2 separate regions of the Homo sapiens genome follow, and region 2 is linked to region 1. Evidence: promoter capture Hi-C in 16 types of primary human blood cells and fetal thymus (Javierre and others, 2016). All regions are on one chromosome and are shown on one strand. Each heading gives the region's core, a stretch centred on a gene start or on the middle of the fragment in contact. The rest is flanking DNA. Distances are from core to core; before and after follow the strand shown. Region 1 holds the start of PPP1R9A (protein phosphatase 1 regulatory subunit 9A). Region 2 has its middle 51 kb from the start of COL1A2.

Region 1 (6,530 bases), core at 2,919-5,418:
AATTCCCGAACTTCTTCAGCTTTAATATTACTCACTATTGATGTATGCCATTATAAAGCACATTTAAGAAATGTAATTGATATCTCTCAAACTCTGAACTTTTAAAATCACCTGACAACAGGTGATTTTAAAGGTATCAACAATCTTGAATCCCTTACAAAAACTCCTACTAGTTGTCAAGTCTATTCTACATACAATTAGGCCCTAGTACTAAAAACAAATTTAGAAAACAAAATGGAGAAAACACACTTACCTTAATAGGAGCACTACTAAACTTAATTTTCCTATTTGCTGGGATTTCTTCTTCTTCTGGCAATCCAACAATTTCCGAGTACTCCATATCAGGCTGATAGTAACTGTTCTCATCACTATCTTCCTCCTCATCCTGCTCAGTGCCTGTCTCTCCCCAGTCTGAATTATACCTGGATCTCACCCTATACACATTATAGTCACTGTGCATGTACACATGGGAACCATCAAAATTATTTGAATCTTCAGGTACTTCTTTTCCACAACTGGATGCAGAAGCATCAGGAGAGGTGAAATCACCACCTGCAAGTTCTTTCCTCTGTTGCTTTGCTGCCTCCCTTCCAACCAAATTAGCTTCAGCATCTTCTAACAGTTGGCTTTGTGGTGAAGGGATTTCGGACTTTGGCATTGCCTTACTTTCAGCACAAGGTTCTTCAGGACCATCTTTGTCAATGCTGTCGGGAGTCTGTTGATTAGATGTGGAGTCCTCGGGTTCCTTGCTCTGCTGGATCTCTTCACCAGGTATCGAAGCTAGAGAGGTACTTTTAGAAGCCACTTCTGGTACTGGAGTTGCATTACTCTTGTGAGCATCCTCTGTATCAACACCTCGCTTGTTTGAAGGAGGCCAGGAATTAGAATCCTTCAGGTGACCAAATGTGTCAAGATTTGTAACAGTAACAGATGGTAAATTCAAGGGATAATGCCCAGTCACTGAGTATTCATTGTTTTCAGCCTTCTCAGAAATGATGGCACTGGGAGAATCAGTGTTCTCAAATACTGCACTCAGTTGACTCACAGTTGGGGAGACAGCCTCAGTTCGGGAGCTAAGGCTGTCCAAGGAATCAGTACTGCCTCTGTTGGACTTGGAACCTCCCCATTCATCCTGAGGTTCACTCCCTCCAGCTTTCTCTTTCTTTGGGGAATAGCGGTTGTTCTGTCCTGATTCATGCACACTTCTCTCAAACATCTTTCGAGTCTCAGTGAACTTGGAATATGAAGGGCCATCGTACATAGTGTCAAATCTACTAATTCGTTCAGAAACAGAAGACTCCAACTTAACAACTGAGCCATCTGTTTTTTCCAGAAATTCTTTGGGCTTCATTCTTCTCTGAGGAGATGAATGTCCACCTTTCCCCCTTGTTTTGGCAATGACTGCAGCATTCTCGTTGGGTTCCATACCCATCTGCATAAATAGGTTTTTAATTCTGTTGACATTGGAGCCATATTTCCTCCCCCTGCTCTGCTGGGAGCCCTCACCTTCTTTTGTTTTTTGTTCCCCATCTGACTTGGGTTTGTCAAAGGTACTTTTCAGTGCCTGAAACTCAGTTCGATATGCATTCCTGTGAGGAGAGGCACTTCTGAGAGTGGTTCGTTCACCTGAAGACTCAGTTTTCAACATTTTCACTTCAGGGGTGAAAAGCCAATGTTCATAATGATCAAAGAAAAAAACCAAAAACCAAGATACCTCTCTTCTCTAATCACCAGTATTGGGTCAAGAAAAGTACCTCTCAAATGGTATACGGTGTCAGTGATCGTCCCAACAGGTGTATTAGGAACTTAGTCACAGTCAAGAGTTACACAGAATGATTTTTTCAAAGCAAGACTAGAGGTTCATCTGCAATAGAAAAGAATGAATTTCTGAATTCATTTACTTATTTGAATTTATGTCTAGTCAAATAACATACATTTTTTTTTCCAAATGGCTTAGCCACGTGGCAAACAGAAGAGATTACTCATTGAAATGGGAAGTTAAAAGTCAAAAAGTTATCATTCTGATTGGTCTTTGGTAAAAAAAAAAAAAAAAAAGTTCCAAACACAATTTGGAGATACCTATCAAAATCTCACACACACACAAACACATACACACACTCACAAATACAAGCTACACATAAGTATATTTGAAAGCAATACTTTAGCCCAAGTTTTGGTCGCTTTTGTGAATGCCCTTTAAAAAGAAACCAGCAGTTCATCGATCTTTAAGAAATCATCAAACTGTCCAGAAAATCAACTTCATTTAGGATTCTCCACAATTAGGTAGAACTTATTCTTTCTAAGTACAATTAAGTTTGGAATCTATGTTTACAAACTCCAAAACATGCCTACAGCGGCATATTTTACTTTTTTTGGTCCAATGTTCTCATCTACAGCATCCCCAAAGCAATACTAATGCAATTTCAGATCAAAACAAGGAGAAAAAAAGTTCCTGAATAGCAATAAGTTTCACTAAGTTCAGTTATAACAAGTATTTGGAAGTTTCCTAACAGTGGTTATTATTAATTATGGAGTGGGATGCAGACTACCAAGGGAATAAATGCGTAAGAATGTGACAATCAGAAAGCAAATATACTGTGACACCCCTTTTCACAGCCCTGATTTGTTTATTCTTTCTTGCCTCTAACTTACTACAGTTCAACACGCAACGCAATGCATGCTTGCTGGTCTCTTTAAGCCCACAGCAGGATTTTATATCAATAAGCCAGCAATCAAATACTTCAAGATATGCTGAGGAGCAGACAATGCAGGCAGTTCTAAAGATTTTTCATTTTATTTTTGTTTTGTTTTGATATTAGACCGAGCCACATCACCCTCACGCACAATCAGCTGAGGAGGCACACACTTTCACTTAAACCGTCTCCAAACTCGGCTCCTGGCCCAGCACGCATGCATGGCCCATGCAGACAAACAAGAAAGGCTTTGGAGTGTGGTGCCTGTTTTTTTCTTTTTTTGTAAAGCATCGACAATCTCCTTTTACCCTGACCATTCTTTTTAAAGCCACAAACACCCTCCCCTCTCCCCTACACACACCCCCCATTCCCTCCCCCGCCAATTCCAACCCAAGGAGGCGGGGGCGGGGGAGATGGGGCCGCCGGGGGATTCAAAACCTGCCCTCACAAAAGACAAACATAAATAACACCAACTTGAGAGGCAGCCGATTCCCAAGCCCGGTTCGGGACGCAATCCCTCGGCCCTGGGGCAGGACCGGGAGAGCAGGTGACGCCAAGCGCTATGGTAGGAGGTCGCAGTCTAGCTTTGTGCCAAGAAGCACCTGAAGTCCTAACACATTGGCTGCAGCTCCCGGCGGCTGCCAGGCGGATCCCACTGTGACACGGAGAGAGACGAGCTCCCTGGCCACATTTAAAAAAATAGAAAAGAAAAAAAATTACAGGGTAATGAAAATAAATCCCTTTGTTTTTCCTCCCAATGTGCCAGGAAACAATAGATCCCACTGATAATGCCTCCGATCTTCAACCTATTGCTCCTCCACCACAACCCACCCCCACCCCCAGCCTGCAACTCAGCCTTTGTACAAGCCGATTTTTTCCTCCTCTCCACCCTCCCCAACTCCTCGCCCCGCGCTCAGCCTCCCCCTTACCCGAGCGGGAGCGCCGCGGGCGGGGAGGGTCGGGCCGCCGCGGCTCCCACCCCCTCCTCGCAGGCGCCCCCCGCCCCACGGTGGACGCGGCGGCTCGGCTCGGCGCCGGCCCGCTGGGTACACCGCAACCCGCTCCTCACGGCGCAGCGCGTAGGGCGGCTGCGGCGGCCGCTTCCACTCGCGCGTCGGCCCCCAGGCGCTCCCTGCCCGCGGCGGGCGGCCCCGGGAGGCGCGCTGCGCTCCCCAACGCCATTGCGGGCGGGCGGCGGCCCGAGCAGCGACGCGCCCGCACGCTCGGGCCGGCCTGGGGCCAGGGGTGCCGGCCGGGGAAGGGGTTTGGCCCACGTGCGGTCGCCACGCCGGGCCGTTTCGGCGGCCGCGGTGTAATGGAGGAGAGGCCGCGGGGGTGAGGAAGGCCGGGGTAACAGGTGCCTCACCTCGGCTGATGGGATTAACTCTAGGGCCGCAGAGAGAGGGAGCCCGGCAGCAAAATCCCGGGAGAGGGAGAGAGAGGGAGCCTCTGGCGGCCAAGGAAGGGCGAAAAGCACCGGCCCGAGGCGAGGCCGCCCCACCCCCTCGGCCGTGGGCGAGGGGCCTCTCCGGCCTGGGGCAAGGCCCCTTCCTGTTCGGGTGTTGGCTCCGGAACTTGGTTCTGGGGCTGACCGCTGCTGGGGCCCCACTTAGTCTGAGTCTGCAGTTAACTCCGTGACCCCAAGGCATCCAAGTCCCAGGCCACTCTGCTGACCTGGAAGGCCAAGACGTAGGCCCAAGTCTGGTGTGGCCTTCACCTAAGCCACTGCGCCTGGCCTACTACTCACCTTGACCTTAAGATCTCACTGCCAAAGAGAAAGGGATGAGGAGGTCTTCTACCTTTCCTGTCTAGGGAGAGTTTTTCAGCTCACTCCCCCCCGAACCCCGCCCTTTTCTAAAGGCTCAGTACAACCTCTTACACCCCCAAGTACCGGAAGTGTTACCACCTTCCTGCAAGATATAAAACTGATCATGACTGTCAATACAGATGTTTAAACCAATCCTTCCAAAAAGCCTAGGGAGCAGGAACTCTTAAAAAATAATTTTTCAAGAAGGTAAAAACATGACAATGGTAGAAATATAAAATGAACATTGGTCAAAATTTTTATAACTCTTTTAATTAGGAAGGGAACCCCAGCAAGATACTGCAACCCATTCACGTGAGACTGTGAAGAGTAGACATAGAGGCAAGAAGAGGCAAATCTGCTTACTATTCTATAGAGCACTGAAATGTAATGTTTATTATTATCTGCTTTACAGGGCGGTAACCAGTTGTATCTGTAAAGTAACAAATTTGCATTCTGTAGATAAAACTCATTTACATTACCAAACGTTTCTACAGCTTACTGAGTAGTAAAATAGCCTAGTGAAAGTCAGTCTAAGTAAGGTGCAGACGACTGTAAATTTCACAACACTCCGGAGTCCTGTAGATAACATCCAGCATTCCATTGAAAGGACAAACAGTAATCTTTTGCTCATTTCAAAGTCTTTCACAAGTTTTCCCAACATAACTATTTTTAGCCCCATTTCACTGATGGAAAAACTAAGGTTTAGGTTTTGTAACTTACCCGCTTCTTTATTGGCTATTAATAGTAAATGATTATGGCTGAATATGAACCCAGGCAAGTCCGTACACAAATTCTATATACTCTGGGAGCAAAATCTTTTCATTTCAGAAGGATTTTGTAACTACTCAATACTCAGTTCTATGTATTTTTTAATTTTAAGCAGCAAGGGCTTTTTTTTCCTTTAAGCATCACCAAATTCTGGGTCCTTTCCCAAGAAATTGGCATTCTCTGTCTACGAAGTGGATGTCACTTCTATAAGCATAAACAGATGTAACAGGCAATGTGAGGGGGCTGTGGTTCCAGGCTCCACTTTTGGAAAGAACATTTCTGCTGTCTGGGATAATCTAGTGGAAAAGTTCCTGTCATTTATTTGCAGTATGGAAACCAGGTTTTTTAGGCGAATAACCTAAATAAATGCAGAATCTAATCACTGAGTTCTGTCTGTAGAAGAGGGGGCAGAGTTGGCAATAAAGACAGTCTTACACCTCTTTGCAGAAAGATGATTCATACAGAAAAGCACCCTAAAGGATTTGGTTGGTTTGAGTTTTATCTTTTGAAAATCTGAAACTTCTGGAAAAGTTCATACTGAAGGAATGATAGAGTTTTAAACCCGATGGTGAGAATTTAAGATTCCTAGATTTCCTATAATGGACCTTCCATTTCCAACACTTACTTGAATGTTTGAAGGGTCTATTAGACTGCTAATCCAATACATGCGGCTATTTAACTTTAATTAAAATTAAATACAATTTAAAATTCAGTTCCTTAGTCACACAAGCCGCATTTGAAAGGCTTGATGGCTACATGTGCCTAGTGGCCACTCTGTTGCACAGTGTAGATACGCAACATTTCCATCACAGAAAGTTCTATCAAACAGTGTTGTTCTAGACCACATTTTCACTTCTATGAACTTTATAAGGGTTAACTTAGTTCAATAGATCATTAATGTATTAGGCATTAGAGGTCATACATTTTATATGTTCCAACTGGAAAGGTGGTGAAAAGTGAACTTCATTACTGACATGCAAAAAATCCAAAATGTGTTTGGGGTGGGGGAGTTCTCAGTTTTCATATATGATACCTTAACCTTTCATAAATTATATAGAATATTGTGGGCTGTTATTTTCATTTCCTTTGCAACCAATAATACCATGATTAGTATTAACCATGTGGTCACAAGGTTAGAGGATAAACAAAAAGTACAAAGTATATTCTATATTGTTTTAGGGGTTTTCTCAATGTATTTTTAAGTTTTCGTGATGGACATTCTAAGAACTATTCAAAGAATTAAGTTATTCATGTGTGTATGT
Region 2 (6,530 bases), core at 2,530-5,029, 460 kb after region 1:
GCCAAAGTGTTATCAGTGGTTATTGTTGATTAAAAGAGATCAAAATAATTTTTCTGCTTCCTTACAATTTTACTTACATTTTTCCTACAAAAAGCTTGTATTGCTTTAAAAGAAAATATAAACCTAAAGAAGAAAAATAGTTACATGTATGTATATAAATTTAAATGTATCTTTGGTGCTTTATGGAGTGTTAAAAAAGAAAAAGTATCACCCTAAATCAATGCCACATTTAACTAAACAGATACAAAAGGAACAAAAGCTTAGAGATTGAACTGCAGCTTTCATCACTTCACTAGCACAAATTTTAAATTCAAATGCATACATAAGAATTTATTATGTGATAAAGATGTAATTTCAAATCCGTGTACAAGGATGCTTGGTCACCTTACATTATATAACAAATAAATCCCAGATGTTAAAAATTCAAATTCAAAATTAAATAAACTTTAAAACATATAAGTGAGGCTGGGCATGGTGGCTCACACCTGTAATCCTAGCACTTTGGGAGGCTGAGGCGGGCAGATTGCCTGAGTTCAGGAGTTTGAGACCAGCCTGGGCAACATGGTGAAGCCCTGTCTCTACTAAAATACAAAAGAAATTAGCCAGGCATGGCAGTGTGCGCTTGTAGTCCCAGCTACTCAGGAGGCTGAGGCAGGAGAATTGCTTGAACAGGAGAGGTGGAGGTTGCAGTGAGCAGAGATCGCACCACTGAACTCCAGTCTGGGTGACAGAGCAAGACTCCATCTCTACAAAAAAAAAAAAAATCATATAAGTGAATATTTAGCTTAAGCAAAAAGGCAAAGAAAAAAATTATGAAGAAAAAATATAAAGGAAAACATATGTGCATGAAAATTGCCATAAAAGGAAATGATAAAATGGAAAAATTATTTATAGCATACAGAATGGACAAAATAAATAAGACATCATTTAAAATGGTCTATGAGCATTTGAAAAACACATTTAACTTCAATACTAATCAAAAGATTGTATGTTTTTTAAAAATGAAAAGTTTTGCTATAAAATTGGCCAAGATTTAAAAGATTTTATTATATCCAATGTTATCAAAAGTACTTCATGTTATAAAACTATTCTGCTGCTTAAAATTATTTCTTAAGAAGATATATAATAACATGGAAAAATGCTCATATAAAATTTAAATTAAAAATAGAATTTAATAATAAAATGGTTTTTTCTATATCTGTCCAGAAGTATATATTCCAAAGTTTAAATAGTGATTATCTGTATTACTTGAGTTATTGGTGATAATTGGCTTCATTCATTTCTGTATTTTTTAAACTTTTTGTAAAAAAAATTGCAAGTATACAAACTGCTTATTAAATTTTCTTTAAAATCGGGGTATAAAATAATACATATAGTTTGATTAATATTTTAGTAAAAATGAAAGTGTGTGTATATATAATTACATATATTTAAAATTCATATGTGTATTAAAACATATTTTAGAATTTTAATAGTGATTATATGCATGGTTACTTATATGGTTATGTTTTTATGGTTTAAGTAGTGGTTATAGGTGGCTATAGGTGATTATTTTCTTCATCATTCATTTTGTGATTATTTCACTACAGATAAAAATGTATGTGATATATGTATACATTAAAAATTATCTTTAGAAAGATACTTAGTAATACGAAAAAACATTTATGAAAACTTTAGTTAAAAACACAAAAAAACACAACCTAATATATGCAGCTTGTTCACAATTTGGTAGAAATGGAAGCACATGTCTATTTTATTCGTATGTGTATATGAATAGATTTTAAAAACTTGGAAGGGCATGTTCTAAAGTTTTAATTGTGATTATAGTACTGTGAATATAGTGGATAGTTTTCTTCTTCATTCATTTCTAACTTTTTAACTAGAAATCATAAAGCCTACACATATATATCATACACATCAAATTGTATACATTAAATATGTGCAGTTTATGCCAATTATATCTCAATAAAGCTGATAAAAATGTATAATGCTGTTCAATAAAACAAGTTTATTGTTTATAAAAAGAAACATGAATAATTTTAAAACACAAAATATTCACTTTTTACTAGCTCAGTGCCCATTTGTACGGTTGGTTCAAAAGTAATTGCGGTTTTTGCCATTAATTACTTTTAATACAATACCCAATACATTTAAAAATATTTGTTCGCTAGCATTTGGCACAGTTATGAAATAGCATTTTAAACAGGTTTTAAAAGTTTGGATCTGCACATTCTTTGCAAGGTTGGTAGGGAGGGGTGAGTGGGGTAGAATATTACTACTTATCAAGATATGTTAGTCCCTAAAAAGAAATGAATATCATGTCCAAGAAGCTGACTACTTTGTGGAAACATTCAGCTATTTATTTTTTCATTACAAGACGGTGATTTCTTATGATTAACAGATTTAAGTAAGCAAGCAAGCAAGCATGATGTGAATTTTCAAAAGAAACCACTAATTTAGATCCTACCGTCTCTCGTTAACATGTCCTGTGCTGAAGTATTAAATTTATTGATTACGTGAACTGTTAAATAGTCCATCTGCAATGCAAATGTAACTTTAAAATTAAAAATCTGACATCAATTCATTTTTCTCAAGAGACTTCAGAACTAAATTAAACACTTGATATGAGGCAGCCAGCCTTTTCTGATAAAGCTTTCAAATATCCGGCATGTTAAAAGTGTGCTGCTAGGTATGTGAAAGATGGCACTAGGCAAAGAATGACAGTCTCAATCATTTTTTAATAAAGGAAAATACACAGCTCTCCTGTGAAGCTGCATACTGCTTGACTGGTGGGCAATACTAATATGTATTCAGAGATATGATGATGTATCTGCTTGTCTTGCTGAGCTGTGCAGAGACGTCTTGCACAGATGCTCCCATGTGATAGCTGGCTGTATAGTTTGGTCTGCCTTCCTTGCAAGGCTCACAGTCTAAAACCCCAGCAGCTAATTTTTAAATACTAATGCATAGCACAGACCTAAGAATGAATAGAAATACTCATCCCTGAGGCATGTCATGAGTTGATTATAATAAAAATTGCTTAATTATTTATTGGTAGTTGCTTTATAAATTACTCTCTGGTTTTGCTGGAGGGCATAAACTGTGAGATGGGAGAAAAGAGTTAGAGAGCTGAAATAGTCAGGGGACACTGTGGTTAAGGGTTTCCCATACTACACAAATGCCTTTGGACTTTATCCTGCAAGTGCTGTGGAAACAGGAATCTTTTAACAGGGAGTTGAAAGGTCAGAGTTGTGTTTTCTCTGTGTAATGGAAGATGGATTTGAGGGGAACGAGAAAAGAGGCAGGTAGTAACTAGTTAAGGTGAAAGGCTGAAGTGAAAAGTTGCAGTACTGCCGAAAAAGAAGGGAGGAAGCCCCAAAAACAAAGGCTAAAGAAGTAAAGCTATAGAAAAACATTTAGGAGGATATGGTAGTTGATTGGATGTGAGAACCAGAGGTAAAGGAGAGGAAAGAATTGTATTTTCTGTTTTGTATAACTGGGTAAATAGTAGTAACCCCTTTAGCTGATACTGAAATCACAGGTGCTAATGCAGATTAGAAGAGGAAACATTAAGTGGCTGATTGACCTACTTTTCCTGATGCATGCATGCAGTCACTCAGCAATTTTATAAGAGCAATTGTATAGACAAACATACAATAAACAATGACAGCAAAATTATAAACAAAGTGCTCCAACTAAATCACAAAGGGCCAGGAAAACATGAGAATCTTTTTATGAAGCTCATATTAGGGACATGGACAAAGATGTAACAATTAGATTATATTAATTGTATTTGTTATGTTGCAATGGGAATGATTTTACTTGCTATAATAATGAGCTCTGTTATAATGGGTATTCTCCTTGATCTCACCTATTCATTCATTAGAATGAGGTTTTATTCTTTTCCTTTCACAGAGTAAATATACAATAAGATCAAATAAATTTTGATGATTGCCAACAGATGGTGAGGGGCTCAACTTGAGGACCATCTGATCTTTGGCTTTTCAGTTCTTTCCGGCTGTTCTTTCTACTTAATTACCTTCCCCTCACTTCCTAATCCCTTCCATGTAATTCTACACCAAGACTGGGTCTAGCACTATTAATTTTCCACAGCCTACGCTGTTTTCTGATAAGATATTCTTTCTTAGCTGGTTGCTAATGGACCTAAACAGTCTGGTTTTAGCAGAACCTTTCAATCCTATTTGAATCATGTCTTTGCTCAATTTATTAATTCAGTTTAATGCAGAGAATTTAAAACTTACTCTTACAATTTAATCTCATTTCAAATCTGACACAATGAATCAACCACCAGTGATTTTACATAATCAAAGAACCATTTCAACTAACCTGTCTTTAAAATCCTTCTATGTGAGACATATATTTTTTTCAATCATTAAAACAGGCTTACTAGAGTGATATATGTGTTTCAGTAACAAATTTCCCTCATTACCTGAATGCATCTCTGCATCTTTTGAGAATGAAGCAGAGAAAATATTGCTGTAATAGATATTTTAACAATATATCACGGAAGCACGAAAGATTAGGAATGTCTAAACACTCAGAAAGGACCTCCTAGGGCAATTTTCTAAAGATTTTTTTATGTATATTTATATAATCCATATCTAGACAGAACCTTTTTTTCCTTGACAGGTGTATTTTAACAACCAGTTCAATATAAGGAGGCTGTCTCCGTGTTCTGTTCAATAGTCCCTAATAACACTGCTTTACCAAGGGAGACGAATAAAATTTTGTTGATTGAAACATACTGCGTCATAATGTGTTCTCATGTTTCCGTAATGTTTAGCAGTAATTTAACAAAGTGCTTGTTCATTTGAATCAGAAATTGTACATCAAAACTATATATTGTTCTACATGTAGCCTGCATTCATAATACAATAAAGCTTAGTTTTAAATATACCATCTATGTTTTGTGAATGCTAGTTAAAAATAATCCTAGTTTCTTCTGATAATGAAAGTAATATATGTTTATGTTTTTTTGAAAAATGCAGACAGATTAAAGAAAAAACCCTGGCAATATGCATCACCTCACTAGAGATAATGGTTATTAATATTTTTACATACATCCTTTCTGAATTTTTATGCATATCTGTAAAAAATAAAAATTTTTAAGCAAACTTGAACTTGTATGTAATGATTTACATGGATAATCACTGCACACATTAACTTAGATGAATTTTACTCTCTCTGTGTGTGAGACAGACAATAATTTAATTAAATTTTTAAAATTTCTCTTCATTTAGCTCATGAATATATGCTTTGGAATAAGCATGAGATGGGGGATAGGAATTTCTTTTTTCTTAGTCAATTCCAGTTTCTGTGTGTCTCACATGGTGTGTGCAACTTGCTACAGTGACTATGATTCTGATGGCAAAAATACATATTTTTCTTATAACATGGTCTATACTCAGGCCAACAACTTTCATGCACAATCACAGAAACAGCCATGTATTCTAATACTAAAAGAAAAACTGTGTGGAAGTTATGGTATTTGGTCTTCAACCTAGAGATTTTCAAGGGTAATGTTGATTATGCAAAACTTTTTCTCCATTATGTGCTGGTTTTAAAACCTAACTTCCTGCATGGGATGCAACTCCCCTGTAATCTATACTTGTTTATTTTAGCAAATAGCTATTAATTTTCTTCTATAAGTATATTTTGAGAACATTTAAAATACTGGATTGCAATCCATCAAATGGATGCACCATATCTACTTAAACCAATCCACTATTATTAGACATTTGGTTAATTTCCAATGTTTTGTTATAAATAAAGCTATGACAACTGTTGCGCTTGAGATATGATATGAGGGTCAGTCATTATATTTGCACATGGACTTAATGCTATTGTAGTGTCTTTCTTTCAGGCAATTTTATCACTCCCATGCTAAGATATAGGAAGAAGGGGGATGTGACTTCCCAATAACCAGCTGGGGGTTGCCTTCACTGGAAGAGAAGGCAATAAAACGGGATTTTAGAAAAATAACCTTTTGGTGTTTTTTGCAGACACCTTTCCATGACACCTGTTCAGAGGGTTGGATTTGCACATAGTCATGTGAACCAGTTCAAAGAGTGTATTTGTGTGGCTTTTTGAGAGCTGCAGTGCTCTAGTTCCTTCTGTCAGCTTTGCGCTGCAAATAGCCATGGCATTTCCCAAAGTTAGAAGACTTCTGTGATTCACGTGCTTGTTCCTCAGACCCACACAGCTCTCCCTCCAAGTTTAGGTTGCCCCAGACAGCTGCATTGGGGGACAGCTACGTGCTGTTCTGATTTGTGCAGTGGAGAGAAAACTTGAGTCTCACAGCTTTATGAGAAGCCTTCATATGGACTCTACTGGGTCAAAGTCTTTAGAAAAATCAAATATTAATTTATTAGCATTCATTCCTTGTCCAAGATATAAACATTTTTAAGGCTTTTGATACATACCGATAAATTTCTCTCTAGAAATTTTGTACCAATTTATACCACATCAACTGTAGATGAGAGTGATCTTTTGTCTAAACTCTTATCAAC

What was found. Contacts are between HindIII fragments. The CHiCAGO score rates a contact against its expected background, and 5 or more counts as called.
Region 2: a fragment that was not itself captured here is called in contact with the fragment with the promoter of PPP1R9A in region 1 in 1 of 17 cell types (M2 macrophages); the score reaches 5.3 in M2 macrophages.

Annotation. Positions count from the first base shown.
Region 1 is chr7:94,905,232-94,911,761 of GRCh38, reverse strand. PPP1R9A (protein phosphatase 1 regulatory subunit 9A) reads right to left here and starts at 4,168. Exons shown (of 20, transcript NM_001166160.2): 1 at 4,060-4,168; 2 at 254-1,864. The coding sequence starts at 1,648. RefSeq lists an enhancer at 3,351-4,111. The HindIII fragment of the contact is 9,522 bases long and covers 1-6,530 here.
Region 2 is chr7:94,442,514-94,449,043 of GRCh38, reverse strand. No RefSeq gene overlaps it. Among named protein-coding and RNA genes, the nearest start is that of COL1A2, 51 kb to the right of the region's middle. The HindIII fragment of the contact is 2,249 bases long and covers 2,655-4,903 here.